Regions from separate parts of the Homo sapiens genome. Here region 2 is linked to region 1. Evidence: promoter capture Hi-C in 16 types of primary human blood cells and fetal thymus (Javierre and others, 2016). All regions are on one chromosome and are shown on one strand. The core of a region is centred on a gene start or on the middle of the fragment in contact, and the rest is flanking DNA. Distances in the headings are between cores, read along the strand shown. Region 1 holds the start of PRKAB2 (protein kinase AMP-activated non-catalytic subunit beta 2). Region 2 overlaps GJA8 (gap junction protein alpha 8).

What was found. Contacts are between HindIII fragments. The CHiCAGO score rates a contact against its expected background, and 5 or more counts as called.
Region 2: a contact is called between a fragment that was not itself captured here and the fragment with the promoter of PRKAB2 in region 1, in 2 of 17 cell types (neutrophils and fetal thymus). The highest score is 7.7, in neutrophils.

The regions. Positions count from the first base shown.
Region 1 is chr1:147,170,399-147,174,176 of GRCh38, forward strand. PRKAB2 (protein kinase AMP-activated non-catalytic subunit beta 2) reads right to left here and starts at 2,072. Exons shown (of 8, transcript NM_005399.5): 1 at 2,031-2,072; 2 at 1,591-1,769. The coding sequence starts at 1,746. It also overlaps a transcript of CHD1L not described here. RefSeq lists silencers at 1,732-2,001, 2,172-2,401. The HindIII fragment of the contact is 16,401 bases long and covers 62-3,778 here.
Region 2 is chr1:147,908,819-147,912,596 of GRCh38, forward strand. It overlaps GJA8 (gap junction protein alpha 8), which reads left to right. Exons shown (of 2, transcript NM_005267.5): 2 at 1-451. The coding sequence ends at 439. Among named protein-coding and RNA genes, the nearest start is that of GJA8, 7.9 kb to the left of the region's middle. The HindIII fragment of the contact is 1,559 bases long and covers 472-2,030 here.

The DNA.
Region 1 (3,778 bases), core at 822-3,321:
AATCCTGAGTCATCAACATAGGAAAAGGGTAAAAATATAATGAGGCGGATCACCTTTCGAAAGCTTTGAAGAAGTAAATTCAGATGGCTTGTAGATAGCCCAAATAAGAATGGAGAATTGGAGAATAAACCCCAATAAGTGCTCCTTTTAATCACTCTCACTTCTCTGTGATTATGGTTGGTTTTTTTGTTTTTTTGTTTTTTTGTTTTGAGAGTCTGTCACCCAGGCTGGAGTGCAGTGGTTTGATCTAAACTCACTGCAACCACCGCCTCCCGGGTTCAAGCGATTCTCCTGCCTCAGCCTCCCGAGTAGCTGGGACTACAGGCATGCACCAGCATGCCCGGCTACTTTTTCTGTATTTTTAGTAGAGACGGGGTTTCACCATGTTGGTCAGGCTGGTCTCGAACACCTGACCTCAAATGATCCAACCGCCTCGGCCTCCCAAAGTGCTGGGATTACAGGCGTGAGCCTCTGCGCCAGGCTGTGATGATGTTATCAATTGAGATCCAAAGAAATAAATCATGGAATCCAAATTCCATGTGCTACCAATATGGCAAACAATACTCTATTCACTCTCTAAAGCCCCAGTTCCCTGGGAAGTGATGAAATGATAGGAAACATCAAACACACCCGAATCTCCTCAAGCCCTCCATTTTTCTATCTCATCCAGTCAGTCTACCTGGAGGAATTACTTGTATTTCATGCTGACAGCTCTGAAAGCCATTAGAAACATTAGAATGGTAATCGCTGCTATCAGCTCCATCTGTCCTTTCTTACAGAGTGAAAACAAGTTGTTCTCTTCCTGAAAGTCCTTGGAATTGAGAGCAAGGTCTTCAGGGCAGCTGTGGGTTGTCGTTTTTTTAGCCACGCAACATTTTGAAGTACTACTGAGGAGTAAACAAGTCGTGGAATCATTGGCTCTTCCACCTACGGAGCAGCAGCGGGGCGTGAAAGAGGCACAGCCTCAGCCACCACAACTATAAAGTATGGGACAAAAATTAAGCAGTCAACTAAATGATGTCCTTAATTGATCCCCAAGACTAGGAGAAAGTATTCAATAAGCAAGTAGTTGCTGCTTACAGCCGTGCCAAAAGGGAAGAGGATCACAACTGTAGAGCTGCTAGAAGAGCAAAAATGATACTGATACATAGAAATTTTCAGAAAAAGAATTTCATTTAGCCACCTCAGGGCAAAGGTGAGAAACTACCACCTATGGTCAGCAACTCGTGCAACCTACCCTCTGAAGTTGTCCACCAGGGATTACAAACTACAAATTCAGCAACGCTATGGAAGAGAGCCATTCGTGCTCGGAGGATCGGGGATGGGGGGATGTCTATTGTCCCCATCCTAAAAATGTGGCCAACAGATTAGTCAGAACACCAGGAAAGCAAGAACTCCGCCTCTTTATCCTATTTTGAGGCGGCACTTCAAGAGGAATTATCATCCAACACCTCTGTCCCCGATAAATCCCTTTAATTCAAAAAACCATAGCCCGGTTCGGCGCGGTAGAAAAGAACCAAGAAAGGGAAGAGGAGCCCAGAAATCAACCCGCTGCAGTACTGACACCAACTGCGGGCATGGGACGCTTACCTTGGAGTCAGGGAGGCTGAACACGCTGGGGTCGTCCGTACTCCCCACCATGATCTTGTGCTCCTTCCCCGGGGCATGGCCGCCTGCGCCCTCGGAGCGTGCAGCCTTGGCGCCGTGGCGCTCCCCGGACACCCGGTCGCTGGTGGTGTTTCCCATGGCTGCAGCTCGTCGGGGACCACCTACCGCGGGGAACGACACCGGGCTGGGAACACCTCAGCCGCCGCGTCAGGGGCGCCCCCCGGCCCCGCCCCTGCGCCTCGGGACAGGGCAAGGGATTCCCCGCCCCAGGGAAGCCGAGCCCTGGAGCCCTCTCCCTCCTGGCCTGCGGGAACGCCTGCAAATACCCCGGTGCCCTCACTGGCCCTAGCTCAGGAAACCCGCTATCGGGACCTCCCCCGCGTCCCCGCGCTCACTGCCAGGGGCGCCCCCACTCCAGTCACCTCGGGCGATGCGCTCCCTCCTCCAAGGGCCACTGATGTGATGGCTGTTCTGCAGATCAGGCCACCAATAAAGTTATTGAAATTGAAGCCGCACCCCTCGCTGGCGACCAGCGATTCCTCCTAAAATGGCTACAAGGCCGGCGGCGCGGAGTCCGCCCAGTGCGCGTTCCCTGCGGCCTGCAGCCTCGGCGCCCGGGACCCGCCGGCCTCTCTAGCCGCCGCCGCCGCCGCCTCGATGGTGGGCAGTCGCACGCAGCCTCCAGCGCCAGGAGGGGGCGCCAGGCAGGGCCTGTCCCGCCTGGGGAGACTGCGCCCGGGATAATAGGAGCGCTTGGCCTCTGAGACTACCCGGCAGAAGGGACGTCCCCAAATGACACTCGGAGGCCGCCTCCCTGGGCTCCGGTGCTCGGTGCCGGGAGGAGCGGCACGGCTTTCTACCCCGCCTCAGGTGCGCCAGCACGTTTTCTGGGCAGCATCTGTGTGTTAGGCGACCGGAGAGGTGGGTTCCTTATAGGGAATAAGAAAACTGAAACTGACTTCCAACTGCAGGCAGAAGGAAGCAGTGGTCATTGCTGGAGGTTAAAACTGTTCTGACCGGGCGCAGTGGCTCACGCCTGTATTCCCAGCACTTTGGGAGGCTGAGGCGAGCAGATCACGAAGTCAGGAGATCAAGACCATCCTGGCCAACAAGGTGAAACCCCGGCTCTACTAAAAATACAAAAATTAGCTGGGCGTGGTGGCGCGCGCCGGAAGTCCCAGCTACTTGGGAGGATGAGGCAGAAGAATCGCTTGAACCCGGGAGGCGGAGGTTGCGGTGAGCCGAGATCGCGCCATTGCACTCCAGCCTGGCGACTCAGCGATACTCCGTCCCCCTCTCCCCGCCCCAAGAAAAATCTGTTCAGTGGGGAGCGACAAGGAAGGAGCTTTCAGCCCGACTGGGGTCGCAGGGAAGAATTCAAGATGGCGTGTTTAGGAGCTCTAGCTCCTTGACAAATTAGTAAAATGTTAGTCTTAGGAGAAGAACGAAAAGGCTCTCCTAGGCTAAGAAACAGCATACACAGTGAGAAACCTCAGAAGAAATAAAATTCAAGGAAGATAGCAACAACGAAAACATCAGAAGGAACACTAAAGGTATAAAAAGGGCAAAGACAGCCCTAGGGTTGGGAGGGATCCAGGTTTTTTATGAAAATTAGTGGAATCCCTAAGGTACTTACCTTTGTATTATAAGTATTTGCATGTCTCCTTCTAGAAACGTTTATCACTCTGTGTTACACAGACCAGCAGTGTTGGCGTCAACTGGGAGCCTGTTAGAAATGCAGAATCAGGCCCCATCCCCAGGGTTCTGAATCTGCATTTTAACAAGATCACATTAAAGTGTGTGAGAAGCAATGCTTTGACAGCTGGCAGAGAGCAGATCCAGATTTGATACCTTTTCATATTCTGCATGTACCTTATACAGAGTAGGCTTTTGCATTTGCGGAATGAAGGATACAGGAATACTGTTTACTGTAATCCATTTCTAACCAGATATGCCACTTAGGCTTAAACACGGCCAATGATGGGGAACCCCAAGTTACATAGGCCACCCTTTCTGAGTGAGCAGCTCTATTTGCTGAAACGTTCATTTTTATATTATGAAGTTGACATCCCACTTAAGTACAACAAATTCACTACTCCCCTATTCTTTGCTCTGCCTCTTATAAACTCATTCTTTGGCTCATAAACCAAAGACAGTTTACAGGAAGAAA
Region 2 (3,778 bases), core at 1-2,500, 740 kb after region 1:
GACCAGCCCACTGCCTGCCAAGCCTTTCAATCAGTTCGAGGAGAAGATCAGCACAGGACCCCTGGGGGACTTGTCCCGGGGCTACCAAGAGACACTGCCTTCCTACGCTCAGGTGGGGGCACAAGAAGTGGAGGGCGAGGGGCCGCCTGCAGAGGAGGGAGCCGAACCCGAGGTGGGAGAGAAGAAGGAGGAAGCAGAGAGGCTGACCACGGAGGAGCAGGAGAAGGTGGCCGTGCCAGAGGGGGAGAAAGTAGAGACCCCCGGAGTGGATAAGGAGGGTGAAAAAGAAGAGCCGCAGTCGGAGAAGGTGTCAAAGCAAGGGCTGCCAGCTGAGAAGACACCTTCACTCTGTCCAGAGCTGACAACAGATGATGCCAGACCCCTGAGCAGGCTAAGCAAAGCCAGCAGCCGAGCCAGGTCAGACGATCTAACCGTATGAAGTGACGCCAAAGAAAAAAAAAAAAACGCCCAAGCTTACGTAGGGCAAGATGAAAGGAACAGGTGCCAACATGATCTGAATCTTCTGTCTCCTGTCCTCCCACCAGCCTCTGGTTGGACAGGCACTGCAGCAGGGCAGTGCACTCCAGGCAACTCTAGGAAACAGTCTTTCCCACATCCAGCATAAGGGCTACCAAGATAAACCCATCGACCCACTAAAGTTCCCCAGTCTCATAGGACTACCCCGCTCCTCCAACCCCAGCAGCTATGGGTGACTCTTCTTTCATCCCCATTTCTCCATAGAAACCCTTAAATCGGAATTGGGGTTGCCTCATAGCCTTTTACCCATCTTGTCTCAAGCTCACTAAGCCAGAATCTATCATCCCAGCATTTCTGAAGCAGATACCATGTGACCATATTTCAGGGATCCAGACTCAAAAGCCTACAGAATACAGACAGGTGACATAAGTTGCAAGACAGGCCTGTTCTAATGCAAGGGAGAGAATGGGGCTGTGAAAGTTGGAAAGCAGGGGCAGCTGCTGCTCACTTCCAGACAATGAGTACCATGAAGTGTTACCTGGTCTTTCTGATTTTTCAAGGGAAGCCAGAAATCCAACCTTTTTTTTAGACAGGCTCTCTCTTGCCCAGGCTGGGGTGCAGTGGCACAATCTCAGCTCACTGCAGCCTCAACCTCCCAAGCTCAAGTGATCCTCTCACCTTAGCCTCCCAAGTAGCTGGGACTATAGGCGCACACCACCACACCCGGCTAATTTTTGTATTTTTTGTACAGATGGCGTTTCACCATGTTGCCTAGGCTGATCTCAAACTCCTGGGTTCAAGTGATCCACCCACCTCAGCCTCCTATAATGCTGGGATTACAGGTGTATGCCACCGTGCCTGGCCCATGAAATCTAAATTTTAATTGAAATTTTCAAAATTGTTAATGTTGGCAACTAAATTTTAAATACAACATGTGGACCAAATGAAATATGTGCAAGCCACATTTAACCTGTGAGGCACCAATTTGCAATATCAGCTTATGCTAATTAGCCCAGCTTTCCTATGGAATCGGTCTTATTATTTATGGTCTCAACTTGTTTCTGTGGCTCCTAAACCTTATTTCACTACTTTGGAGTGTTTTGTTTAAATCATCAGTCCAGGAGATACCTAAAGTTCTCACTGACCATTCTTTTGGCTCATTGTAGCCCCTGGGTTCTGAAGCAATGATATGCTTTGTATTGGTGGGAATTCTGCCCTGGGTACCATCAGAGAAAGAGAGCAAGTTGCCAAAACTCTCTCTGTGAAATCAAAAGGCTTTGAGGCCTGGTTGTAGTTTGTTTTTCCTGAAGCAAAGAAGATCCTTTCTTTATTCCCCTCTTGCAGCATCAGTGCTCAGCCTAAAATCTATACCTTTTTTCACTAGTGACTAGAAGCAAGCCCAGTTTCGAGCTGGAGGACATCTGCTCACAGGCATGTCCTGGGAAGAGGCAGCTCTCAGACATGATCAAAGGGCCATCAGGGTGGCACCAGAGGGAGCCTCTCACAAAGTGGGTGCTCACACAGCCAGGATCCCAAAGTGGAGTCTCAGGCCAAGCTTCATCCCTGGAAAGGACACAGAGGCTAAAGGGAACAAGAAGAATCTTGAAGGGCTCCTGTCCTCATATTCCCACAACTCACCCTCCTCAAACACAGAGTCTGTTCAGGGGAAATCCTCATGTACACGTACATATTTCATACCAGGAGCAATTTTACCCTCAGCCAATTGATTTCCAGAGCAAGGAGAGAAAACTAAGATGGTTCACCTAAAGCAACACTATGCTTCATGGACTGCAGTGCCAAAGATAGGGTAGGAGGTATAGAAACCAAGTTGACATAGCAGGGACCTGGACAGGAGACCAGCAAGGGGCCCAAAAGGGATACTTAGAAAAACTGCGTTTGTTGTATCTTCCCAACCCCGATCAGCATCATCTCAAAGTATATCAATCCCCTTTGCTGCCCTCTGGTTACCACCTTCCTTTTAAGATATTCATTCAAGATATACCTTTCCAAAGCAGGCCTTTTCCAAAACTATTCCTCCCCCTTGACAAAATTTCCATTCCTTGGTGACCCATTCTAAAGCAAAGTAGTCTAAAAATTAAATTCATTCTAAGGTTTGATTGTTCGGTAACTACTCCTGGGGAAAAAACTGCATTTAAAAGAGAAAGACTAAAATATATTTTTACCTAGGTAACCCAAAGTGACAAACCTTCAGTGGAGGGATGTTGAATAGAAGAGGTATGTTTATCTTGGAGGCACGTGATTTTCTGGCTACTGCTTAATCTTACCCCTAGCAAGCAACGTTATTCTACACAGACTTTCTCCTATATGGTGAGAGAATTAACACAATCCGAGGCCTGAGAACCAGAGAGTGCATCCTTGACTCTAATGGCTGCACTATTGCTCCCATAGTTTTGTTCCTGAAGATGCATTTTAGGAAGAGCCTTATGAATAGCTTGATCATTACCAGAATAAAGTGTCTATCTCAACTAGAGCCTAATACAAAAAAGAAAAAGAAAAACGATATCCTGTTCTAAATAAAACTGCTGTTTGGTACCAGTTGTAGAAATGAGGGCTACTGGTCTCCTTATCTCAGGTGGGACATAAGTGTGTGATAGAGCGTCTTTCCTCAGATGAGGCAGTATCCTGCTTCAATGAACGTACCCACACTGTCCCCACATTTTCCCTCTTAGTCTTCCCAATAAAAGGAGAAGCCTATTTAGGAAGAAACAGACACAGGCATCAAGGGGCTGCATTTTTTTTCTATTTCTGCCATTTAGTAGCTGTATCATTATTGTGCCTTGAGCTCTCTTTACTTCAGTTTTCTGTCTACAAACTAAAGCTGGCATTTGCCACCTACCTACATCCAGGGGTGTCCTAAAGATTGAGTTGGCTGCCAAGCATGAGGCCTGCTGAGTGGTACCATTCCCTGAGAGATTCCTCCAACAGCAGTAAGACTGGGAAGAAGGGCAGGTGGATGGTTTCCATCTGTCCCTCCAACCTGCCTCGTAGTTACCTGGTGAGTTTTTCAACGTGAAATAGACACTCCAGAGATCACTTTTCTCAGAAGAGATTCAAAACAGAATTTAACCCCATATGTTTAGTAGGAACCTGAGGCTCATTGACCTTAATAAATGACTGGAGACAGATTGCCAATTACTTTCATTCTCTGAGAAAGAGGTCCCATCTTAAGCGGCCACACAAACACAGCCAGTTTCCATTTAGAAGCAGCTGCATGTCTGTGGTGGTCTTTACTCTAGGCAGCTACACCACTCAGCATCTGTTTTGAGGCAAATAATTATGA